2 separate regions of the Homo sapiens genome follow, and region 2 is linked to region 1. Evidence: promoter capture Hi-C in human tissues and cell types (Jung and others, 2019). All regions are on one chromosome and are shown on one strand. The core of a region is centred on a gene start or on the middle of the fragment in contact, and the rest is flanking DNA. Distances in the headings are between cores, read along the strand shown.

Region 1 (5,375 bases), core at 1,709-4,208:
TACTAAAAATACAAAAAACAAGCCAGGCATGGTGGCGGGCACCTGTAGTCCCAGCTACTCGGGAGGCTGAGGCAGGAGAATTGCTTGAACCTGGCAGGTGGAGGTTGCAGTGAGCCGAGGTCATGCTACTGCACTCCAGCCTGGGCGACAGAGTGAGACTCTGTCTCAAAAAAAAAAAAAAAAATTCAACTCAATATGGATCAAAGACTTAAATCTAAGTCCTGAAACCAAAAAATTCTAGAAGATAACCTAGGAAAAACTCTTCAGGACATTGGTCTAGGCAGCGGTATGTATACCATTGTCATGGAATATTACTCAGCCATAAAAAAAGAATGAAATAATATCTTTTGCAGCAACTCGGACAGAGCTGGAGGCCATATTTCTAAGTGAAATAACTCAGGAATGAAAAATCAAATGCCATTATGTTCTCACTTTTAAGTGGGAGCTAAGCTATGGATACATAAAGGCATACAGAGATCATGGACTATGATCTCATGGAGGCAGAGAGTAGAATAATAGTTATCGGAACCCTAGAAGGATGCATGGGTGAGTAGGTGGGGAATGAAGAGGTCTGTCTAACAAATATACGGTTATATAGAAGGAATAGTTCTTATGTTTAATAGCAGAGTAGGGTGACTATAGTTAACAGTAACATATTGTAGTGGTGGCTCATGCCTGTAATCCCAACAATTTGGGAGGCTGAGACAGGCAGATCGCTTGAGCCTAGGAGTTTGAGACCAGCCTGATCAACATGGTAAAACTCCATCTCTATCAAAAACAAAGTATAAAAATTAAGTGGTAGTGCACACCTGTAGTCCCAGCTGCTCGGGAGGCTGAAGTGGGAGGATTGCTTGAGCTTGGGGAGGTCAAAGCTGCAGTGAGCCGTGATCTCACCACTGCACTCCAGCCTGGGTGACAGACAGACCCTGTCTTTTTTTTCTTTTTTTTCTTTTTTTTTGAGATGGAGTCTCTCTCTGTTGCCCAGGCTGGAGTGCAGTGGTGCAATCTCAGCTCACTGCAAGCTCCACCTCCCGGGTTCACGCCATTCTCCCACCTCAGCCTCCTGAGTAGCTGGGACTGTAGGCACGTGCCACCATGCCCAGCTAATTTTTTGTATTTTTAATAGAGATGGGGTTTCACCGTGTTAGCCAGGATGGTCTTGATCTCCTGACCTTGTGATCCACCCGCCTTGGCCTCCCAAAGTGCTGGGATTACAGGCGTGAGCCACAGTGCCCAGCCTGAGTGACCCTGTCTTAAAAAATAATAATAACGTATTGTATTTTTCAAAATAACTAGAAAAGATGATTTGAAATGTTCCCAACAATAGAAATAATAAATGTTTGAGGTGACAGATATTCAAATACCCTGACTTGATTATACCATATTCTATGCATGGCACAAAATATCACATATACCCCATAAATATGTACAAATATCACATATTAATAAAAATACTTTTTAAAAATCAACAAGGCAGGGCTGGGCGCAGTGGCTCACGCCTGTAATCCCAGGATGTTGGGACTCCGAGGCAGGTGGATCACCTGAGGTCAGAAGTTCAAGATCAGCCTAGTCAACATGGTGAAACCCCATCTCTACTAAATATACAAAAAATTAGCTGGGCATGGTGGTGGGCACCAGTAATCCCAGCTACTCAGGGGGCTGAGGCAGGAGAATCGCTTGAACCTGAGAGGTGGAGGTTTTAGTGAGCCGAGATCATGCCATTGTGCTCCAGCCTGGGCAACAAGAGCAAAACTTCATCTAAAAAAAAAAAAATCAACAAGCCAGACACAGTGGCTCACGCCTACAATGCCAGCATTTTGGGAGGCTGAGGCAGGCAGATCACCTGAGGTCAGGAGTTCGAGACTAGGCTGCTCAACATGATGAAACCCCATCTCTACTAAAAATACAAAAAATTATCCGGGCATGGTGGTGGGTGGGTGCCTGTAGTCCCAGCTACTCGGGAGGCTGAGGCAGCAGAATCACTTGACCTTGGGAGGCGGAGGTTGCAGTGAGCCAAGATTGCACCACTGCCCTCCAGCCTGGGTGACAGAGTGAGACTGTCTCAAAAATAAAAATAAAATGGCCAGGCGCAGTGGCTTATGCCTGTAATCCCAGCACTTTGGGAGGCCAAGGTGGGCGGATCACAAGGTCAGGAGATCGAGACCATCCTGGCTAACACGCTAAAACCCTGTCTCTACTAAAAATACAAGAAAAAAATTAGCCGGGCGTTGGGGTGGACGCCTGTAGTCCCAGCTACTCAGGAGGCTGAGGCAGGAGAATGGTGTGAACCCGGGAGGTGGAGCTTGCAGTGAGCTGAGATCCCACCACTGCACTGTAGCCTGGGGAACAGAGCGAGACTCCATCTCAAAAAAATAATAATAATAAAATAAAAATAAATAAATAAAAATCAACAAAGGAGAAAGGTTCATAGGACAGGATCCAGAAGAGACCATATGTGGGATTCCAGTTGTCCTTTCCCAGTGAAGTCATACAGAAAGCGCTTAATGCTTGAAGCAAAGATGAGTGACAACATACAGCAAGTATTGCCACCCAGGGAAGCTCACCTGAGCCTCGGCATTCAGAGTTTTTACTGGGGGTTGGTCACGTAGATGCAGCTGACTGCCTGTGTGGCTGACCTAGTTTTTACCCTCTGTGGAGATACAGCAATAATACGTGGTGCAAAGCCCCCACCATAAATCACTGTGTTCTTGTAGACTCTTCCAGTGTCTCATGGCCCCCTGGAGAATGAATGAATGAATGAGACTCTGCATCCATCACCTCACCTGCAGCCGTGACTCACCTGTGTCCCCTGACAGTCCCCTCCTAGCACTGCCCACCTCCGAGGCTGGCCAGGGTGGCTCCTTCCTGGTTTGGGGCTGGTCCTCATGCCCTCTGCCCTGCTGCTTCCCCTGTGAAAGGAGAAGTTGGGAAGCGAGCTTTCAGGACATAGCGGTTCCCGAGGCTCCTCCTCTGTGGATGGTCACTGCCCCTCCACCAGGCTTCCTGCTGGAGGAGTTTCCTTCCCAGCCAGGCCGGCCCAGAAGCCAGATGGTCCCGGGACAGGCCCAGCCCCAGAGCCCAGAGATGCTGCTGCTGCCCCTGCTGCTGCCCGTGCTGGGGGCGGGTGAGTGGGTCGGTGGCTGGGGGTCCCAGGCAGGGGCTGGGGCTGCCGCTGAGCCTCTGCATCTCCCCAGGGTCCCTGAACAAGGATCCCAGTTACAGTCTTCAAGTGCAGAGGCAGGTGCCGGTGCCGGAGGGCCTGTGTGTCATCGTGTCTTGCAACCTCTCCTACCCCCGGGATGGCTGGGACGAGTCTACTGCTGCTTATGGCTACTGGTTCAAAGGACGGACCAGCCCAAAGACGGGTGCTCCTGTGGCCACTAACAACCAGAGTCGAGAGGTGGAAATGAGCACCCGGGACCGATTCCAGCTCACTGGGGATCCCGGCAAAGGGAGCTGCTCCTTGGTGATCAGAGACGCGCAGAGGGAGGATGAGGCATGGTACTTCTTTCGGGTGGAGAGAGGAAGCCGTGTGAGACATAGTTTCCTGAGCAATGCGTTCTTTCTAAAAGTAACAGGTATGGAATGGGGTGGGAACCCCTGCCTGTCACACTGGGGAGGGACCCTGGGGACAGGCTATGGGCTGAGCAGAGAGGGCTCTCAGGGACCCCTGCAGCACAAGAATCTCCCACCCGGTCTCTGTCCCAGCCCTGACTAAGAAGCCTGATGTCTACATCCCCGAGACCCTGGAGCCCGGGCAGCCGGTGACGGTCATCTGTGTGTTTAACTGGGCTTTCAAGAAATGTCCAGCCCCTTCTTTCTCCTGGACGGGGGCTGCCCTCTCCCCTAGAAGAACCAGACCAAGCACCTCCCACTTCTCAGTGCTCAGCTTCACGCCCAGCCCCCAGGACCACGACACCGACCTCACCTGCCATGTGGACTTCTCCAGAAAGGGTGTGAGCGCACAGAGGACCGTCCGACTCCGTGTGGCCTGTGAGTGTGGCCTGGGAGGGTGGGGCGTGCAGACAGCCCCGGTGGGTGGGGAGGTGGAGGAGCCCAGCGGGACAGTGAGTGGCTCCCAGCTCAGGAGCATCCAGGGAGAGGAAGCTGTGGGGTCCCAGGATGCCGGCTCAGCCCTGGGAGGGGGATGGGAATGGCGTCTGATCCTCTGTCCACATGTGTGAGCCCTGGAGCTGGTTGTCACTTGTCCATCCTGGGATGTTCCCACTTTCTTTTCCCTGAGGGAGTTTTTTCCAGGTGTGAGGAACAAATTGTCCCTCCCTGAAGCCAGCTCACAATCTTGTTGCAGATGCCCCCAAAGACCTTATTATCAGCATTTCACATGACAACACGTCAGGTACTGAGGGCCTTCGGGCTGGGGCTGGGCCAGTCCTCTTTAGGGATGAAAAGGCTTCAGGGGGGTGAGGGGATGTGGTCCTCTTTGCAGCCCCCCCTCCCACCCATTCTCTCTCTCCACCCCCACCCTCTCTCTTTCCCTGTCTTCAGCCCTGGAACTCCAGGGAAACGTCATATATCTGGAAGTTCAGAAAGGCCAGTTCCTGCGGCTCCTCTGTGCTGCTGACAGCCAGCCCCCTGCCACGCTGAGCTGGGTCCTGCAGGACAGAGTCCTCTCCTCGTCCCACCCCTGGGGCCCCAGAACCCTGGGGCTGGAGCTGCGTGGGGTAAGGGCCGGGGATTCAGGGCGCTACACCTGCCGAGCGGAGAACAGGCTTGGCTCCCAGCAGCAAGCCCTGGACCTCTCTGTGCAGTGTGAGTGTGCCTAGCAGGGGCCTGGAGTCCATTGGGAGGGCAGAGGGATACAGGGGCTGGGCTCAGGGTCCCAGAGCTGAGGGGGTCTTGAACCCCAGGCCTCGGGGACTGACCTTCTTACCTGTGTAGACCCTCATGCAGTTTGTGTCTGGGACTCAGTGGGTGATTCTGCCCTGCCCTTCTATCCCACCCACTTCCCCCACCTCAGTGTCCAGGATAGTTCCCTTTACCCAGAGGGAAGCCCCTGGTCTGTCTAGAGCCGGTCCCCTGTCTCCATTTCAGATCCTCCAGAGAACCTGAGAGTGATGGTTTCCCAAGCAAACAGGACAGGTAGGAAAGGAGACAGAGGAGCCAGGGCCTCTCAGTGCCAAACTGGGGGCCCAGGAGTCTGGAGGGTCCCCACACAGGAGGGTCCCTGAGCCCTGAGCTGCACGTCGATTCTGCCTCTTCCTTCCCTAGTCCTGGAAAACCTCGGGAACGGCACATCCCTCCCGGTCCTGGAGGGCCAAAGCCTGCGCCTGGTCTGTGTCACCCACAGCAGCCCCCCAGCCAGGCTGAGCTGGACCCGGTGGGGACAGACCGTGGGCCCCTCCCAGCCCTCAGAC
Region 2 (5,375 bases), core at 810-3,309, 47 kb before region 1:
GTGTATGTGTGTATATATATACACACAATCATTGTATGTGTGTATATGTGTGTGTGTGTGTATATATATATAAAATAATTATTGTAATCAGAAACTCGGTGGGTGGTTTAAACAGCAGACTAGACATAGCTGGGAGAATTAGTTAACTGGAAGATAGATTTTAAGAAATTACATGGAAGAGGCCAGGCATGGTGGCTCATGCCTGTAATCCCAGCACTTTGGAAGGCTGAGGCTGGCCGATCACTTGAGGTCAGGAGTTCAAAACCAGTCTGGCCAACATGGTGAAACCCCATCTCTACTAAAACTATAAAAATTAGCAACATTACAGGCATGTTGGTGCATGCCTGTAATCCTAGCTACTTGGGAGGCTGAGGCAGGAGAATTGCTTGAACCCAGGAGGCAGAGGTTGCAGTGAGCCAAGATTGCACCACTGCACTCCAGCCTGGGCAACAGAGTGAGACTCCATCTCAAATATACATACATATAAAGACATTATGTGGAAAGGACACAGAGTGGCAAAGTGCTGGAAGATACAAGAGAGGCAAAGACCTAAGAAGGAGAGAACAACTAAAAGGAACAGTTTGCTCATATATTTACATAATAGAAGAAGCAAGAATTGGTGTTGAGGGCCAAAGAGAACAGCATAGCTGAGTATAACCTCAGGGCTCCCAGTCCAATGGTGCCTGCAGAGGGGCCTTTGTAACTCCAGTCTGCATTTTGTCTGCCTTTCTTTAGGCTCAAAGAGAGGGCTGAACTCCAGTTTTGAAACCTCTCCTAAGAAAGTGAAATGGTCCAGCACCGTCACCTCTCCCCGATTATCCCTCTTCTCAGATGGTGACAGTTCTGAGTCTGAAGATACTCTGAGTTCCTCTGAGAGATCCAAAGGTAAGAGTTAAGGTCTATCTGGCCTGACTCTTAAGTGGAGCAAAGTTAGGTCATCTGATGATCTTTGGGACAAAACTGCCACAGCCCCGGCTCAAACATCATCCATCCCTGCCTGGACTCTGACTCCAGCAGCTTCCCCAGCCTCCCATCTCCCCCTCCAGTCTGCCTCTATATGGCCCCAGATGGGTCTTTCAGCACCTAGAGCTGCCCCGGCCCCTCCCTGCACACAGACCCCTACTGTTCCTGGTGCCCTCAGACCAAGCTCTTCAGTCTGGTATCTGTGTGGCCTGGTTCCTGCTTTAGCCCTCAACACAGTCTTTGCCCAGAAAACACTTTTGGGGATTAACCTTGGTCTTTGCTAAGCCTGTTCCCTCAGCCCAGGGCACTCTCACCTTCGTTCTTGGCCTTGTGTACTGCCACTCAGCCGATACTGGTCTCTAGGAAGCTTCTCTTGAGTGCCATAGGCTCGCATCCAGACCTCCTCATCGTCCGCCAGAGCCTCTTTCCAGCCTCTTTGGCGCCCCCCCGTGCCTGCTGCAGCCTTCATTGGAGCGCATGTCAGTCTAGGCTCCACATCCCTTTCGGCCTCACTTTCTGGGCTGGGGGCCCTTTGCAGGTAGGGACCCAGCACAATTAGTGTATATACCCTCTGCCCAGCCAGTGCCCAGGACACGGGAGGCCTGAGGACTATGTTCCTTCTCCTGTTCACTGAGCCCCTGGATCTGAAGCCACAGCCACAGTGGCAGTGTGAGGCGTCCCCTTTGCTCCTCATTATCCTCTGGGCCCAGAGGCCTCTTGCCATTACTTGCCTTTAGGGGATGGTGGGTGGGAGGAACAGAGTAAGCGATGTCTTTTCCTGTGTCCAAGTCTGTCTCCCACCACACCCACCCCATTCTCTTGCCAGGCTAGGAGCCCTTCTAGGGCAGGGCTTTGGTCTAACAAATTTTTTGGCCCTTTTCTATCTCAGGACTGAGTCCTTTTTCAGGATGTTTTTGGGTAAATGTCTAGAATGTCCTTTATTCCCTGGCAAACTTCTCCTCATCCAACAAGATCCAACTCTAACATCCCTTCCTCCAGGAAGCCTACCCTGACTTCTCCAGGCAGGATCTCTTTCTCTTTTGGGCCCTAATATCTGTCTGTACTGCCCTGTCTCAGACCCGCATCTGACTAGCTGTGTCTAGAGCAGACTTGCCCACCAAACTGGGCACTCCTGAGGGAAGGATGCAGGTCCGACTCCTATCTGGTGCCCCAACATCATCACACAAAGGCCTGACTCATAGAAGGTCCCAGGAAATGTTTGTTGAATGAACGAATTTGTAAAGGAACAGTATTTTGCGTGCTGTTTCACTCCCCATCTAACTTTTCTCTCCTGGATGGTGCTTTTACTTTATTCTTACATCCTCCTGCAGGCTCCGGGAGCAGACCCCCAACCCCCAAAAGCAGCCCTCAGAAGACCAGGAAGAGCCCTCAGGTGACCAGGGGTAGCCCTCAGAAGACCAGCTGTAGCCCTCAGAAGACCAGGCAGAGCCCTCAGACGCTGAAGCGGAGCCGAGTGACCACCTCACTTGAAGCTTTGCCCACAGGGACAGTGCTGACAGACAAGAGTGGGCGACAGTGGAAGCTGAAGTCCTTCCAGACCAGGGACAACCAGGGCATTCTCTATGAAGGTACACTCTGTCCATGGGCGGCCAGGGACTGGGTCGTCTCAGCACCAGGACAGTGGGAGGGGACCCCGTTCTGAGAATGGGAATGGAAGCCACATCCCTAGCTGCAGACCTGTCGCTAGGCAACTTTCTCTTAGACCTTGGACTCTATACCTACCCACCTGCAGGGCCGGGCAATAGTGGGAATGAGTGCAGCAGGCTGGAGTAAGGCAGTTGGGAGTGGCGGGGACTGCGGCCAGTTGGCATGTGCCCTGTGTGAAGTGTGCCCCTCCTCACCCCACCTGCTACCTGCTATTGTCACGTGGGAGTGCAGGCCCAGGGGCTGCATGTTAAGGATGGTTGTTCTGGCCAGTGTGCAGAGAGAGGATGGATCCCCACGTAAAATTTGGTTCAAACATCGAGACTGATGATGTCACACACACACCAAGAGGATGTGAGAGGTTTATTGCTTACATAATAGGGGTCTCTGTGGAGAGCAGGCAGGCCTCCCACACAGATCTGAGATGCCTTGAGAGTGAGGAAAGGAGACTGGTCAGGTGTTTCATCGTGCTTGGGGGTGGGGCTGGGCTCAGGGTTTCTGCACAGGGGCCAACACCATGCATGGTTTGAGTCTCGTGGATGCACACCCCAAAGGAGGGAGCACCCAAGCTTGCTCATCCGCTCACCCAGGTGTGGGATGGAAGGGGAGGAGGGAGGCACAAGGCTGAAAAGCTCAGACTCTGTTACAATGAGGAAAATAATTATGGCAGTAGTATTAGTATTAACTGTAATAAATATTGAGTGCTTCTGCAAGGCCAGGCCTGTTCTAAGCACTTTACATGGGTTTTTCTTTTCCTTTCTTTTCTTTTTGGAACTTTTTAATTGAGATAAAACTCACATAAAAGTTATTCTTTTATTGGCCAGGCGCGGTGGCTCACGCCTGTAATCCCAGCACTTTGGGAGGCCGAGACAGGCGGATCACGAGGTCAGGAGATCGAGACCATCCTGGCTAACGCGGTGAAACCCTGTCTCTACTAAAAATACAAAAAATTAGCCGGGTGTGGTGGCTGGCACCTGTAGTCCCAGCTACTTGGGAGGCTGAGGCAGGAGAATGGCGTGAACCCGGGAGGCAGAGCTTGCAGTGAGCCGAGGTTGCACCACTGCACTCCATCCTGGGTGACAGAGCGAGACTCCGTCTCAAAAAAAAAAATTATTCAGTGAGACTCCATGTCAAACAAAAAGTTATTCTTTTATTATTATTATTTATTATTTTTTATTTTTTTGAGAGAGAGTCTTGCTCTGTCACCCAGGCTGGAGTGCAGTGGCACGATCTCGGCTTTTAACAACCTCCACCTCCTAGGTTCAAGCGATTCTCCTGCCTCAGCCTCTCAAGTAGCTGAGATTACAAGCGCATGCCACCACACCGGGCTAAATTTTTTTATTTTTTTATTTTTATTTTTTGTATTTTTAGTAGAGACAGGGTGTTACCATGTTGGCCAGGCTGGTCTCGAACAGCTGACCTCAAGTGATCCACCTACCTCAGCCTCCCAAAGTGCTGGGATTACAGGCATGAGCCACCACGAAAATTCATTCTTTTAAAGGGTGCAACTGAGTGGCCTTCAGGATATTCAGAGTGTTATGCAACCATCGTCACTATCTAATTCCAGGACGTTTCTGTCACCCCAAAAAGAAACCCAGTAGTTCTGAGCCATCACTCTGATTCTTCCCCCAGTCCACTGGCAGCCACTAACCGCCTTTCTCCCTCCGTGGATTTGCCCCTTCTGGGTGTTCACAGAAGTGGAGTCCTGCGCTGTGTGGCCTCTTGTGTCTGGCATCCCTCACCCAGCGGCGTGTGCTCAAGGTGCATCCATGCTGTGGCGCGTCACTGCCGCACTCCTTTTATGGCTGCGTGATATTCTGCTGTATGGGAACACCCCATGTGGCTTAGCCACTTAGCAGCTGATGGGCGTTTGGGTAGTTTCCGCTTTGGGCTGTTATGAGTAACGCTGCCATGAATATTTGCTTACAAGTTATTTGATGGGCAGAGGTTTGCTAAATTCTCACCGCAGCCTTAGGATGTCAGTACTATCCCTATCCCCATTTTATACATGAGGAACATGGATCCCAGAGATGTGAATTATTAGGCTCTGGGCTCCAGAATCTTCCAAGTTTTCCAGGAAAAGCTTGAAACCTAGATTTCAATAGGAAATCTTTGAATTGGAAGTGCCTGCTGGCCAGACAGGCACGTAGACAATTTTGAGCCTTCCGTTGGCCATCCCTGCCTTGAAGTCTGGGCAGGTGGGCAGGACAGCTGGTGTTTCAGACAGCCCCGAATCTGAGTCCTGACTTGGCTCCGACACACTGAGGGAGCCCCAGCAAACAGCCCAGGCACTCTGTGCCTTGATGTCCTCCACTGGAAAAGTGAGATGACGCCTTGTCCCCTGTCTCCTGGGGCTGTTGGCTCAAATGATGATAGGAGATGGAGGCCAAGCACTTGGAAAACTGTACAGGGTCCTTCCCAGGCAGAGGTAGGCAGTGTTAATAACAGAGGGACAGATAGGCAGGGCCAGGAAAGGTGAGGGAGAGGGGAAAGAGTGTGACCAAGACCAAGCAGGAGCAAGAGAAAGAGGGCCGTGGCTAACACCTAGGGAGCACTCACCTGTGCCAGCACTTTTATTTTTAAGAGATGGAGTCTCGCTCCATCACCCAGGCTGGAGTGCGGTTGTGCAATCACGGCTCACTGCAGCCTCAACCTCCCAGGCTCAAGTGATTCTCCCCCCTCAGCCTCCCGAGTAGCTTGGACTACAGGCAGGCGCCACCACGCCAGGCTAATTTTTTAATTTTTTT

Evidence for each region. The method cuts DNA at HindIII sites, captures the fragments that hold promoters and counts their contacts. A contact is called where the count stands out against the background at its distance.
Region 2: a fragment that was not itself captured here is called in contact with the fragment with the promoter of SIGLEC11 in region 1 in 1 of the 25 tissues and cell types used here (dorsolateral prefrontal cortex).

The regions. Positions count from the first base shown.
Region 1 is chr19:49,958,755-49,964,129 of GRCh38, reverse strand. SIGLEC11 (sialic acid binding Ig like lectin 11) reads left to right here and starts at 2,958. Exons shown (of 11, transcript NM_052884.3): 1 at 2,958-3,124; 2 at 3,195-3,578; 3 at 3,709-3,993; 4 at 4,310-4,357; 5 at 4,507-4,770; 6 at 5,053-5,100; 7 at 5,230-5,375. The coding sequence starts at 3,049. The HindIII fragment of the contact is 12,874 bases long and covers 1-5,375 here.
Region 2 is chr19:50,004,746-50,010,120 of GRCh38, reverse strand. It overlaps VRK3 (VRK serine/threonine kinase 3), which reads left to right. Exons shown (of 15, transcript NM_016440.4): 4 at 736-885; 5 at 2,295-2,552. Among named protein-coding and RNA genes, the nearest start is that of VRK3, 18 kb to the left of the region's middle. The HindIII fragment of the contact is 3,791 bases long and covers 164-3,954 here.